Regions from separate parts of the Homo sapiens genome. Here region 1 is linked to region 2. Evidence: promoter capture Hi-C in human tissues and cell types (Jung and others, 2019). All regions are on one chromosome and are shown on one strand. Each heading gives the region's core, a stretch centred on a gene start or on the middle of the fragment in contact. The rest is flanking DNA. Distances are from core to core; before and after follow the strand shown.

Region 1 (5,560 bases), core at 617-3,116, 1.8 Mb before region 2:
ATATGTTATTGATGTTAACGTAATGGTGTTACTGTTATTTTTAAATGAATTGGTAAACAAATGTTTTTTTTTAAAATTCCCAGTATTAATTCCTTTTTGTGTTTTTGAGACAGAGTTTCACTCTGTGCCCAGGCTGGAGTGCAATGGTGCGATCTCGGCTCTGCAACCTCTGCCTCCTGGGTTCAAGCAATTCTATTGCCTCGGCTTCCTGAGTAGCTGGGATTACAGGCATGCACCACCATGCCCGACTAATTTTTTTGTATTTTTAGTAGAGACAGGGTTTCACCATGTGGACCAGGCTGGTCTCAAACTCCTGACCTCAGGTGATCTGCCTGCCTCAGCCTCCCAAAGTGCTGGGATTACAGGCATGAGCCACTGTGCCCGGCATCATATACTATTATAATATAATCCAGAAAGATCTTGATCATTTTGGTGTCTTAGGGAAGATACTGATCCATTACACTGATGACGTAACAAGTGGACCTAAAGAGATCAGGAAGTGTTGAGAATGATATACCCAGTACGATATGAATATGGTGTTTAGGTTATCTTGGGGATTTCCTACCTGAAGTGATAGACAAGTTGCTGCACTGTAGACTATTCCCAACTAAGAGACATAATCTTTACTGGGTCCGTTTGGATTGAGGGGGATGGTTGCAAAGTAAGTCACATTGAGTGTGCTTCTCTGTCCCATTTACTGAGTAACCTGTAAGACTTGAGTGGAGTCTGTCAGAGTTTTCAGTAGAGCCTGGAGAAAAAACAGACTTGGCAGCAGATCCAAGTTGTAGTCCCAAGTTGTTCTGGCACTTGGTCTGTATGACCTAGCAAATCTAAGTAGATTCGAGGTGTTAGTGGCAGATAGAGATGTCCTATGATGCTGCAAAAGAAAAATTGTAGTGCACTAGGGATTTGAAATTAATGACCTCTTCTGCTGACATCTGTTATCTATTTAAAAATTAGGTCTGGTTTGCTACTAGACCCTGGTAGAATACCTGAGCATGGAACATCACGTTTCTTTGCAACTGAATCTGTTTATTATAAACTTGATGTTATCTGATCTATAAAATTATAAAATTAGATGTGTGCAACAGCATTCCATTCCAAAATGGAAATGGTTTATACAAAATTGTACCAGAGAATATCCAGAAAATACAAGTATGCTGTTTTAAGCATGAAGCTTAGATTCCCATGGACTCTTAGATTCCCATGGAATATATTTAGGTGTATTCTCCTACTGCCTCACTGTTTCTCCTGGAATCAGTTGTCTTCTTGGGGAGTTTGTTATGTCAGCTAATGGAAGAGGGAAAAGTGCATCATGGATAGAACTACATCCTGTACTGGCATCAGCTGAAAGCGGACAGAGGTAGAGGGAGGACAGTGGTAAAGGGAAGTCCTCCCAGTGGGCAGAACTTAAGATAGTATCCCCTTTGCATGCAAGAAGAGATGGTCTGAAGTAGAGACTTATATTGATTGATGAGCAGGCAGAAAAGGGTGGTGTCTCCAGATACTCACATTACCTTGAAATGGCTAATGGGTTCGTACAAGCTGGCCAGAGATTTGGAAGGAACAAGAATGGAAGGCTGGATACTTCTTCAAGGTTGAACACAAGGATGTTTCAAGCATAGATATGTGGATAGAACTGCAACAAAAGAGGCCTATGCTGAGCAGCTAATGTGACACTATTCCCTAAGTGTACATTAGATGTCTCCCATCATGCAAAGGGCAGCAGTTTGTCATCCCAGGGATAGACATGTATTATGGGTATGGAGTTGTCTCTTGCCTACAGTGTATCTGCCAGCATTACCATTCATGGGCTTGCAGAATGCCTTATCCATCAGTGTGATATCCCATACCATATAGAGTTTAAGGTACTGTCCTACAAGATGTAGTTTATACCTTAAATCTATCAGTATATAGTGCTACCTCTTCCATAGCCAGAATGGATAGGTCAAGAAATCAAGTGATGGAGGTGGAACTTACTACATTGAAAATTCTGCCAGTTAACCCACTGAAAGCATTTTTATTTCCCCCGCTTTTGACCTGCTTTTGAGTTTGGTGACTTTGGAGGTCCTAGTTCCTAAGGAAGTAATGTTTCTCTCAGGGAATTCAACCTTGGTTCCATTTAAATTGAAATCTTGAGTCAGTTCTCTGATCACTTTGAGCTCATTCTACTGCTGAACCAGCAGGCAGAAAAGGTGGTCTCTCCAGATTATCACCTTTACCATCCAATAATTTCAGCTCTGTGCTTCAGATACCTTGCCATATCAAAAGAAAATATCCAGAAAGAAGCACCAAAAAAGGAAAAGAACAAATACGTGTACAAGACATAGGAGCTAGTTAAGAGTTCTTTTCTTTTTAGAGACAGTCTCCTCTGTTGCCCAGGCAAGAGTACAGTGACACAATCATAGCTCAATGCAGCCTGGGACTCCTGGGCTCAAGTGGTCTTCTGGCCTCAGCCCCCCGAGTAGCTAGGCCAGAAGCTACTGTGTGTTATGCCCGGCTTATTGTTATTATTATTAGTAGTAATAGTAGTAGAGATTGGATCTTGCCATGTTGCCCGGGCTGGTTTCTTGCTATATTGCCCAGGCTGGTTTCAAATTCCTGGCCTAAAGCGATCCTCCTCAGCCTCCCAAAGTGCCGGGATTACAGGTGTGAGCCACCATGCCTGGCCTCAGTTATAGTATATAATTGGAGTCCCACAGGAGAAAGGAGAGATGATAATGGCTTTTTTTCCCCCAAAACCAATGAAAGATACCAAGCCACAGTTTAAAGTATCCCTGTAAACTTACACAAAATAAAAATTTAAAAGTTACACCTAAGAATGTCATAGTATTACTGAATCCCAGAGAAAAAGAGCATAATAAAAGCAGCTAGTAGCAAAAAAGGTGTAACACTAACAGTTAACTTCTTAACAACCATAGAATCTAGAAGAAAATAGAGTTATACTTTGAAAGTGCTTCAAGTTCTGTACTCAGCAATTATAACATCAGAATATGAAGGTGAAACAAAGACAGTTACCTCTGCCACCACCACCAATAAAATACTGACGGAATTGATCACTAGCACACCCACACATCACACAGAAGGCAAATAATCCATGGATGAGACTTGAAGGAAGGAGTGGCAGTCAACAAACGGGAACTATGTCAGTAAATACAAGTGAATTTAGACCACATGAATAGTAGCAGCAACAACTTTGGGGAGTGAAACGAAAATGTATTACAGCAGCATATAAATTGGGAAAGGGTAAATAGTGTTAAAATATTCGAAGGTTCTTGCATTGTTCTGGAAGAAGTCAAACTACAAAGTTAGTATATGTTGCAATCTCTGATAATCATGAAAAGAATAGAAAGTAATATATAACAATACAATGGAAATAGAATTGAAAAACAGAGGAGAGAGAAAAAGAATTTGTAAGACAAGTAGTACCTAGTAAGGTAGATTTAAACGTACCTGTGCACACATGTATATACATACACACACACACATATATATATAGGCACATTTATATATATTTATATCTAAATTTATACATTTGTAATATATATAATATAGTACATATTACATGTGTATTACAATATTACATATTGTATGTAACATATGCCTGTGTACACATGTATATATACACACGTATATAATATACATATTATATATATAAATGTGCCAGTAATAACTTTGCATACAAATAGACTAAGTGTGTCAATTAAAGATATAGTCAAATTGGATTACATACCCAAAGTATAAGGATTAAAGAAAAACCTAAAGCACAAGGAATCAGATATAAAAATAAAATATAAGGAAACAGACTCACCAAAGTTATAAAGATACCGAAAGAGTGAAAGTAAAAGGATGGAAAAAGATATAACAGGCATTTAAGAAATAATGATCCATGAAATGAAAGCTGTGTTAATATCTGACAATGTGGACTTAAAGGCAAAAAAGCATTACTAGAGACAAAGAAGGACATATATATTGTTAAACATATGGAAAACGTGCATGATTTTTCAGCAATTCTGGGGCATTGATATGAAACACTAGATAAGTAGGTGGCAATGGCTCTGAAAATATTCTTGAGGTGCAAATTGAACAATTAATTGAAGAACTTAGAGAAACACTGACTAGAGAAAATCAAGGGGCTGGCTATGGTGGCTCACACCTGTAATCCCAGCACTTTGAGAGGCGGAGGTGGGCAGATTGCTTGAGCCCAGGAGTTCAAAACCAGCTTGGGCAACATGGCGAAACCCTGTCTGTACAAAAAATAGAAAAATTAACCAGGTGTGCTGGCATGCGCCTGTGGTCCCAGCTACTTGGGAGGCTGAGGTGGGAGAATGGCTTGAGCCCATGAGGCAAAGGTTGGAGTGAGCTGAGCCGAGATTGCACCACTGCACTCCAGCCTGGGCGACAGAGCCAGATCCTATCTGAAAAAAAAAAAAAAAAAAAAAAAAAAAAAAAAAAAAGCAATGGCAATGAACAAGACGACCCAGCAAGTTGGAATCATCATAAGCTGGAAAACGTGAATTTGTTAATTTCTAAATAATAGAAATCTCTATCAAGCAAAACTTAAAATGTTAAGAAATGTTTCAGCACTCAAGAGGTAGCAGTAATAGATGCTAACCATCTTTTTTTTTTTTTTTTGAGATGGAGTCTTGCTCTGTCGCCCAGGCTGGAGTGCAGTGGCATGATCTCGGCTCACTATAATGTTTGCCTCCCGGGTTCAAGTGATTCTCCTGTCTCAGCCTCTCAGTTACAGGAGATTACAGGCGTGCACCACTATACCCAGCTAATTTTTTTTTGTTGTTGTATTTTTAGTAGAGATGAGGTTTCATCATGTTGGTCAGGCTGGTCTTGAACTCCTGACCTCAAGTGATCCATCTGCCTTGGCCTCCCAAAGTGCTGGTATTACAGGCATGAGCCACCACGCCTGTCCAATGCTCATCTTTTTTTAAAAAAATAGACTTTTCACACTGTACAAGAACCAACACCTTTGTGATTTGTTTTCTGTTCCTGAAGCCTGCCTGTTCCATTTTGTTTCCTGAGCTGGCATTAAACATTGATGTATTCCTTAAAATGTCTCTTCTGTTTTTGAAACAGGGCTTTGCTCTGTTGCCCAGGCTGGAGTGCAGTGGCATGATCACGGCTTATTGCAGTCTCAAACTCCTGGTCTCAAGTGATCCTCCTGCCTTGGCTTTCTGAGTAACTGGGACTACAGGCATGCACCAACATACCTGGCTAATTTTTTTATTTTTAGTAGAGACAAAGTCTCACTATGATTCCCAAGCTGGTCTCAAACTCCTGAGCTTAAGCGATCCTCCTGCCTCAGCCTTCCAAAGTGCTGGGATTACAGACATGAGCTACCGTGCCTGGCTATTCATAACAATGTCAAGAGGGAAATACAATCGTTACTGTTGCATGTATATCACCATATTCACTATTTGTTTTGTGTACTGACGTAGGTGTCACAGTATAGTCAATAGGTCCTCTAGTTTTTGAAGATTTACATAGTGCACTTTAGCCTTGGAACTTAGTTCATTTTCATACATTTTTGGGGAACCTAATCTGT
Region 2 (5,592 bases), core at 158-2,657:
ATTCTGTTGCCCAGGCTGGAGTGCAATGGCGCAGTCTTGGTCCACTGCAACCTCCGCCTCCCGGGTTCAAGCAATTCTCCTGCCTCAACCTCCCGAGGAGCTGGGACTACAGGCGCCCGCTACCACGCCCAGCTAATTTTTGTATTTTTAGTAGAGACGGGGTTTCACCATATTGGCCAGGCTGGTCTGGAACTCCCGACCTTGTGATCCGCCTGCCTGGGCCTCCTAAAGTGCTGGGATTACAGGCGTGAGCCACCATGCCCAGCCAAATTTTTGTATTTTTAGTAGAGACTGGGTTTTGCCATGTTGGCCAGGCTGGTCTCGAACTCCTGACCTCAAGTGATCCACCTGCCTCAGCCTCCTAAAGTGCTGGGATTTCAGGAGTGAGCCACCACGCCCGGCCAAAGATAACTTTTTAAAAGAAAACTAAGAGGTTAATCAAGGTTAACTGGCAAAGTAGAGGGTGTCTCGACTGATGCCAGAAGCCAAGCAATCATCCATTCTGCCACACTTTCCCACCTGTGGGCTCCTCCAGCGCAAGGCCAGCATCTTGCCCATCTCTGTGTCCCCCATAACGTTCTGTCCATGGCTGATGTTTAATGCTTACACGCCCACCTAAACTGATTTGAGGTGGATCGCCTCAAAGACCTACCTGAGTGCAATGCAAAGGTGACCTCGCTATCGTCGGGGCCCTCCATGCTGCCGACCACCCCTTCCTGGGGTTCTAGAACCCAGCCCTCTTCGTTGCCCTCTTCCTCCTCTTCTTCCTCAAAGTCCACATCTTCCATCTCCTGGGCCAGGTCATCTGCTTTGGGGAGAGGGTTAGAAGATGGGGCTCGGGAGGCGGTAAGAGGTACGGAGAGAAGCATGAGGAGGCCTGAGGCTGGGGCGGGTCATGTGGCGAGAAGGGAAGGTGGAGTCAGACACACCGGGGTCCGCGGGGGCGCGCGGGACACAGGACGGGAGGCCACGGCTGGCCAGAGACCGTGCGGTAAGGGAGGGCCAAGGGGATGATGGGAAGGGGGTGTGTGAGGGGAAGGGCCAGAGGAGGCGTCAGGGAACCCCCACCCCAGCCAGGCCTGAGAACTAAGTGTGAGGGTGGGAGTGGGGGAGGAGGGGAAGAGGGATATCGGTAGGAATGACCAGTCGGGTGTGGAGGGGAGCGGGGAAAAGCAGGAGTCAGAGGCCAGGGGTGAGCGTCTCCTGTCCCATGGCCTGAGGAGCGGCAGTTCTCACCTGGGTCCGGCGGACCGGGATCAAGTTCTACCACCTCGATAATCTCTTCATCACCATGGAAGCTTAGGGTCTCCAGTGGGGGGGTGTCAGCAGCAGCCCCGCTTTCCGATTCGGACTCCATGCGGCGCAAGCGGCGGATCCACTTCTCTGGGCCCAAACGCCTCCCAGAGTCAGCTCTGCGCGACGACGCGGAACTCGAGCCCCTCCTCCCGGCAGGAAGTAGGCGTAGGCGACTCCCCAGCAGGAAGAGCGACGGCCGTTCGGCCAATAGCTACGAAGGTTGGCTGGCCGCCTCACCAATCACAGAGCGGCATTGGAAGATGGGGCCGGGGCGTGGCGGAGAGAACCCAAACTCCGCCCCACCTGACTCCGCCCCCAACTGGAGGGAAACAAGCGAGCGCGCGCGCCTCCGGGGTCTCCTGGGAAGAGTAGTTCTCCTGGGTCCGCTCTGCGGGCTTCTGGGAGATGTAGTTTCTGGTCTGTAGGCAGGACGGAAGGAGCGGGGGAGGCCCCTTACGCAAACTACAATTCCCGGCGGGGAGCGCGGTGAAGCGGGGGTGGGATCTGAACATGGCGGCGGTGGTAGCTGCTACGGCGCTGAAGGGCCGGGGGGCGAGAAATGCCCGCGTCCTCCGGGGTAAGGAGAGGGACCCCGGGGAGGGCAGGACTGCAGAAGATCCCTTTTCTTTCACGTCCAGCCCGACGATAGCAGGAGGTCAGGGCTCTTGGTTCCTCCCCACACTTTTCTGCAAGATCTTAGAGTCTGGGGGTGCAGAGATGCTCTTTAGAGGTCACCCAGTGCATCCCCCCGCCTTCGGGTTGCTCGACACCTCCGGGGTCTTGCTGCAAGAGGGAGCTCCTAGGAAGCCTGTTGGACTCCCGCGCTCCAGGTGTTTCACACTCACCGCAGTGCAGAGGAAAGAGCCCCGGGCTTCTGGAGGTTTGAGTTCCAGCCCCGGATAATTAGCAGTTTGACCTTGGGCAAAGCAGTTTTTCTCTCAGGGCTTCAGTTTCCTCTTCCGTACAGTGCAAGGGATGGAGTAGACTATCTTTAAGGTCCCTTCCAGTGCTAACATTTGCAGTTTCAAAACCTTTTCCCGGATTTCCTTCATACGTCTTATGTGAGTCCCACTGCAGTCCTTCCCATGCTGTCGTCTGAGGAAGAACAGCGAAGCTTTTCGTCCTGGCACCAGGGTGATGAGCCCGCAGTGACGTGGAAGTGGCTTCCAAAGGTGCCACCTCGGTGGCGATTTTCCCATTTCCCTTTGGATTCTCCTTGGCACTTCTTACTTCAGACTGCAGTCACTCCCCTTCCCCAGATCTCAGCCGCTCCTCCCAAGCCCTTACTGCCCCCCACCTCCCCGCTTGCTTTCTTCTCATCTCTTCTTACTGACCTTCCTTACCTCCATCCACAGGGATTCTCGCAGGAGCCACAGCTAACAAGGCTTCTCATAACAGGACCCGGGCCCTGCAAAGCCACAGCTCCCCAGAGGGCAAGGAGGAACCTGAACCCCTATCCCCGGAGCTGGAATACATTCCCAGAAAGAGGGGCAAGAACCCCATGAAAGCTGTGGGACTGGCCTGGTGAGTTTTAACCACCCCTTTGCCCACCAACGGGGCGTGGCTTGTAGGGGAGGGCAGGACTTAGAAACTTCTCCAAGTTTCAGGTGGCGAGCTGAATCCAAAGTTGTGGGAACAGAATTGTTGGGTTCGATTGGAATCTCAGAGGGGTGGGGCAGTGGAGGTGGGAAAGTATGTGGAATTGAGAAGACAGTGGGTTTACTGTGGAGTAAGCTGAGTTGATCTGATTCAGACTTGGGTCCCTGGCCTCATCCTCCCTTTTGGGAGCTTGGAGTGAGACCCAAGTTTAAGTAAGTAGTTCGTTGAGATCATGTGAGCTTGTACTAGTTGTATAGTAGTACTCAGAAGGCGTTATGAACATTGTGATTGGGCTCTGACTCTGACCTTAATACATATTATTGACCAATATTAAAGAGAAAGGAGGAAGAAATCAACATTTTTTTCTGCATGTGAGGTGTGCCAGTACTTTGCCATGTAATGTTTTAGTGTTTGAGATAAGTATTACATCCCCATTTCACAGAGGAAGGAACTGAGACTGAGCTAGGATTCTCACCTAGTCTGTGACTCCATGCTCTTTCCCCCATACCAAAGTGCCTCCCAAGCAGTGGTTACTTAGCTTAAGAGGGGAAAACTGGGAGGGTACCTTGGCCAAGTCTCAGAGAGGGAAAGCGTCAGGGCTGCCTGGAAAATCCTGCACAGGTGCTGTTGCAGGAATGCAGGGCTCGTGCTGAGGATCAGGCTCTAGGCGGGAGGAGGAAAGAGGCAGGCAGAGACCCAGCCACACTGGGCCTTTTGTGCCATGTTTGGACTTGGCCAGGAAGTGATGGAGTTACGGGGTTTTAAGCAGGGAAGTGACAGGATCTGATTTGTGTGGGTCCCTCCAGCAGCCAGCACAGAGGATGAATAGACTATAAGAGGTATTGCAGCATTCATGCAACTGATGAAGCTAGAATGACTCCCCCCAGCTCCTCTGGCTCAGGCTTGGCCCCTCCCCAAACCCCGTGCACATCTCCCCACCCGTAGGGCCATCGGCTTCCCTTGTGGTATCCTCCTCTTCATCCTCACCAAGCGGGAAGTGGACAAGGACCGTGTGAAGCAGATGAAGGCTCGGCAGAACATGCGGTTGTCCAACACGGGCGAGTATGAGAGCCAGAGGTTCAGGGCTTCCTCCCAGAGTGCCCCGTCCCCTGATGTTGGGTCTGGGGTGCAGACCTGAGGAGCGCTGCGACCCTCCTAGGCTATTGACTGTTAAGTCCTCAGGTTTGGCCCAGATTCCAGTTCGTGCCTCTGAGGTCCACCAGAGGGCGCATGAAGCCCAGGCTGTTGCCAAACCCTACCCTGCCCCACACCAAGGAGCCAGCCAAAGGCAAATAAAGTTATTGAGTGTTTAGTAGAAAGGAACCAGGTCTGGGTTTGTGAGTCCCTTGGGATGGGAGGGGCAGAGGGTGGGGCTGGTTACTCATGTGTGCTCCCTCTCACAGAGCTCAGTGTTCCCAGCTGGATGGTGGGGCAAACCCAGAGACTTAAGTGCAACCAGCCTAGGCCCCGGGCCCTCGGGACCAAGCCCTCAGAGCTGCCGGCCAGGAGGGTGGGGTCCCGCTCAGCCTTGAAACAATAAAGAGAATCAAAGAAGGTATTCAGGGTGTGGAGGCAAAAAAAAGCACTGCTCTTTACTGAGTCCAAATGACTCGACTCTGGGCCTCAGTTTCCTCATTTGTTTTGTTTTTTGTTTTTTGTTTTTTGAGACGGAGTCTCGCTCTGTTACCCAGGCTGGAGTGCAGTGTTGTGATCGTCAGCTCACTGCAACCTCCACCTCCTGGGCTCAAGTGATCCTCCTACCTCAGCCTCCTGAGTAGCTGGGACCCCAGGTGAGTGCCACCATGCCCAGTTACTTTTTGTGTTTTTTTTTTTTTTTTGGATTTTTTTTTACTTATTTTTTTTTTTTTTTTTTGAGACAGAGTTTCACTCTTGTTGCCCAGGCTGGAGTACAATGGCATGATCTCAGCTCACTGCAACCTCCACCTTCTGGGTTCAAGTGATTCTCCTGCTTCAGCCTCCAGAGTAGCTGGGATTACAGGCACTCACCGCCACTCCCAGTTAATTTTTTTTTTTTTTTGTACTTTTAGTAGAGATGGGGTTTCACCATGTTTGGTCTGGCTGGTCTCAAACTCCTGACCTCAGGTGATTCCCCCCCACCGCCCTCGGCCTCCCAAAGTGCTGGAGTTACAGGTGTGAGCCACCGCACCAGGCCCAGTTTCCTCATTTTGTAAGATGGGACTGGAGTTGACATGGACTGAACCTGCAGTCCATCCCCTCCTCCATCTGCAAAACTGTAGGTATACATACAGCTCTTTGAGGAAGAGAGTTAGCTCTCATGAGCTTTTGGAAAGGGTCCATGGTGCAGAAAAGGTCAAGCACTACAGCCAAGAGGTCTCTTCCATATCCAGTGATCCAGTGTGATAGGGTTGAGCTCTCCCTTTCCCCACCCAACTCCTGAGCCTTCACTAGTCTATTGCATCCGTCCCCGGAAACTGCTGCAGTAAAGTGTATTTGATTACCTTGGAAAAGGTGGGACAGCCCAAGCCAGAATGCAGAAGGAAGAAGTGGATACTTTGGGCAGAGCCACACATACTCCTGGAGCCATACAGGGTTTTAACTTCTAGACATAAACTTTATTACATTTATAGTTGTATCCCTTTGTGTGATATAGTTAGGATTTCTCTATTAAGTAATTAATCCTAACTATATCCTTGGGCTGATTTGATTTCTGCCCCC

What was found. Contacts are between HindIII fragments. The study calls those that stand out against the background at their distance.
Region 1: a fragment that was not itself captured here is called in contact with the fragment with the promoter of AAMP in region 2 in 1 of the 25 tissues and cell types used here (lymphoblastoid cells).

What each region holds. Positions count from the first base shown.
Region 1 is chr2:216,511,286-216,516,845 of GRCh38, forward strand. No RefSeq gene overlaps it. Among named protein-coding and RNA genes, the nearest start is that of RPL37A, 15 kb to the left of the region's middle. The HindIII fragment of the contact is 3,266 bases long and covers 234-3,499 here.
Region 2 is chr2:218,268,730-218,274,321 of GRCh38, forward strand. AAMP (angio associated migratory cell protein) reads right to left here and starts at 1,408. Exons shown (of 11, transcript NM_001087.5): 1 at 1,237-1,408; 2 at 653-805. The coding sequence starts at 1,357. It overlaps PNKD (PNKD metallo-beta-lactamase domain containing), which reads left to right and starts at 1,790. Exons shown (of 10, transcript NM_015488.5): 1 at 1,790-1,873; 2 at 2,652-2,820. The coding sequence starts at 1,807. TMBIM1 (transmembrane BAX inhibitor motif containing 1) reads right to left here. Exons shown (of 12, transcript NM_022152.6): 12 at 5,468-5,592. RefSeq lists enhancers at 1-586, 1,155-1,474, 1,625-2,004, 2,035-2,084. The HindIII fragment of the contact is 2,176 bases long and covers 1-1,854 here.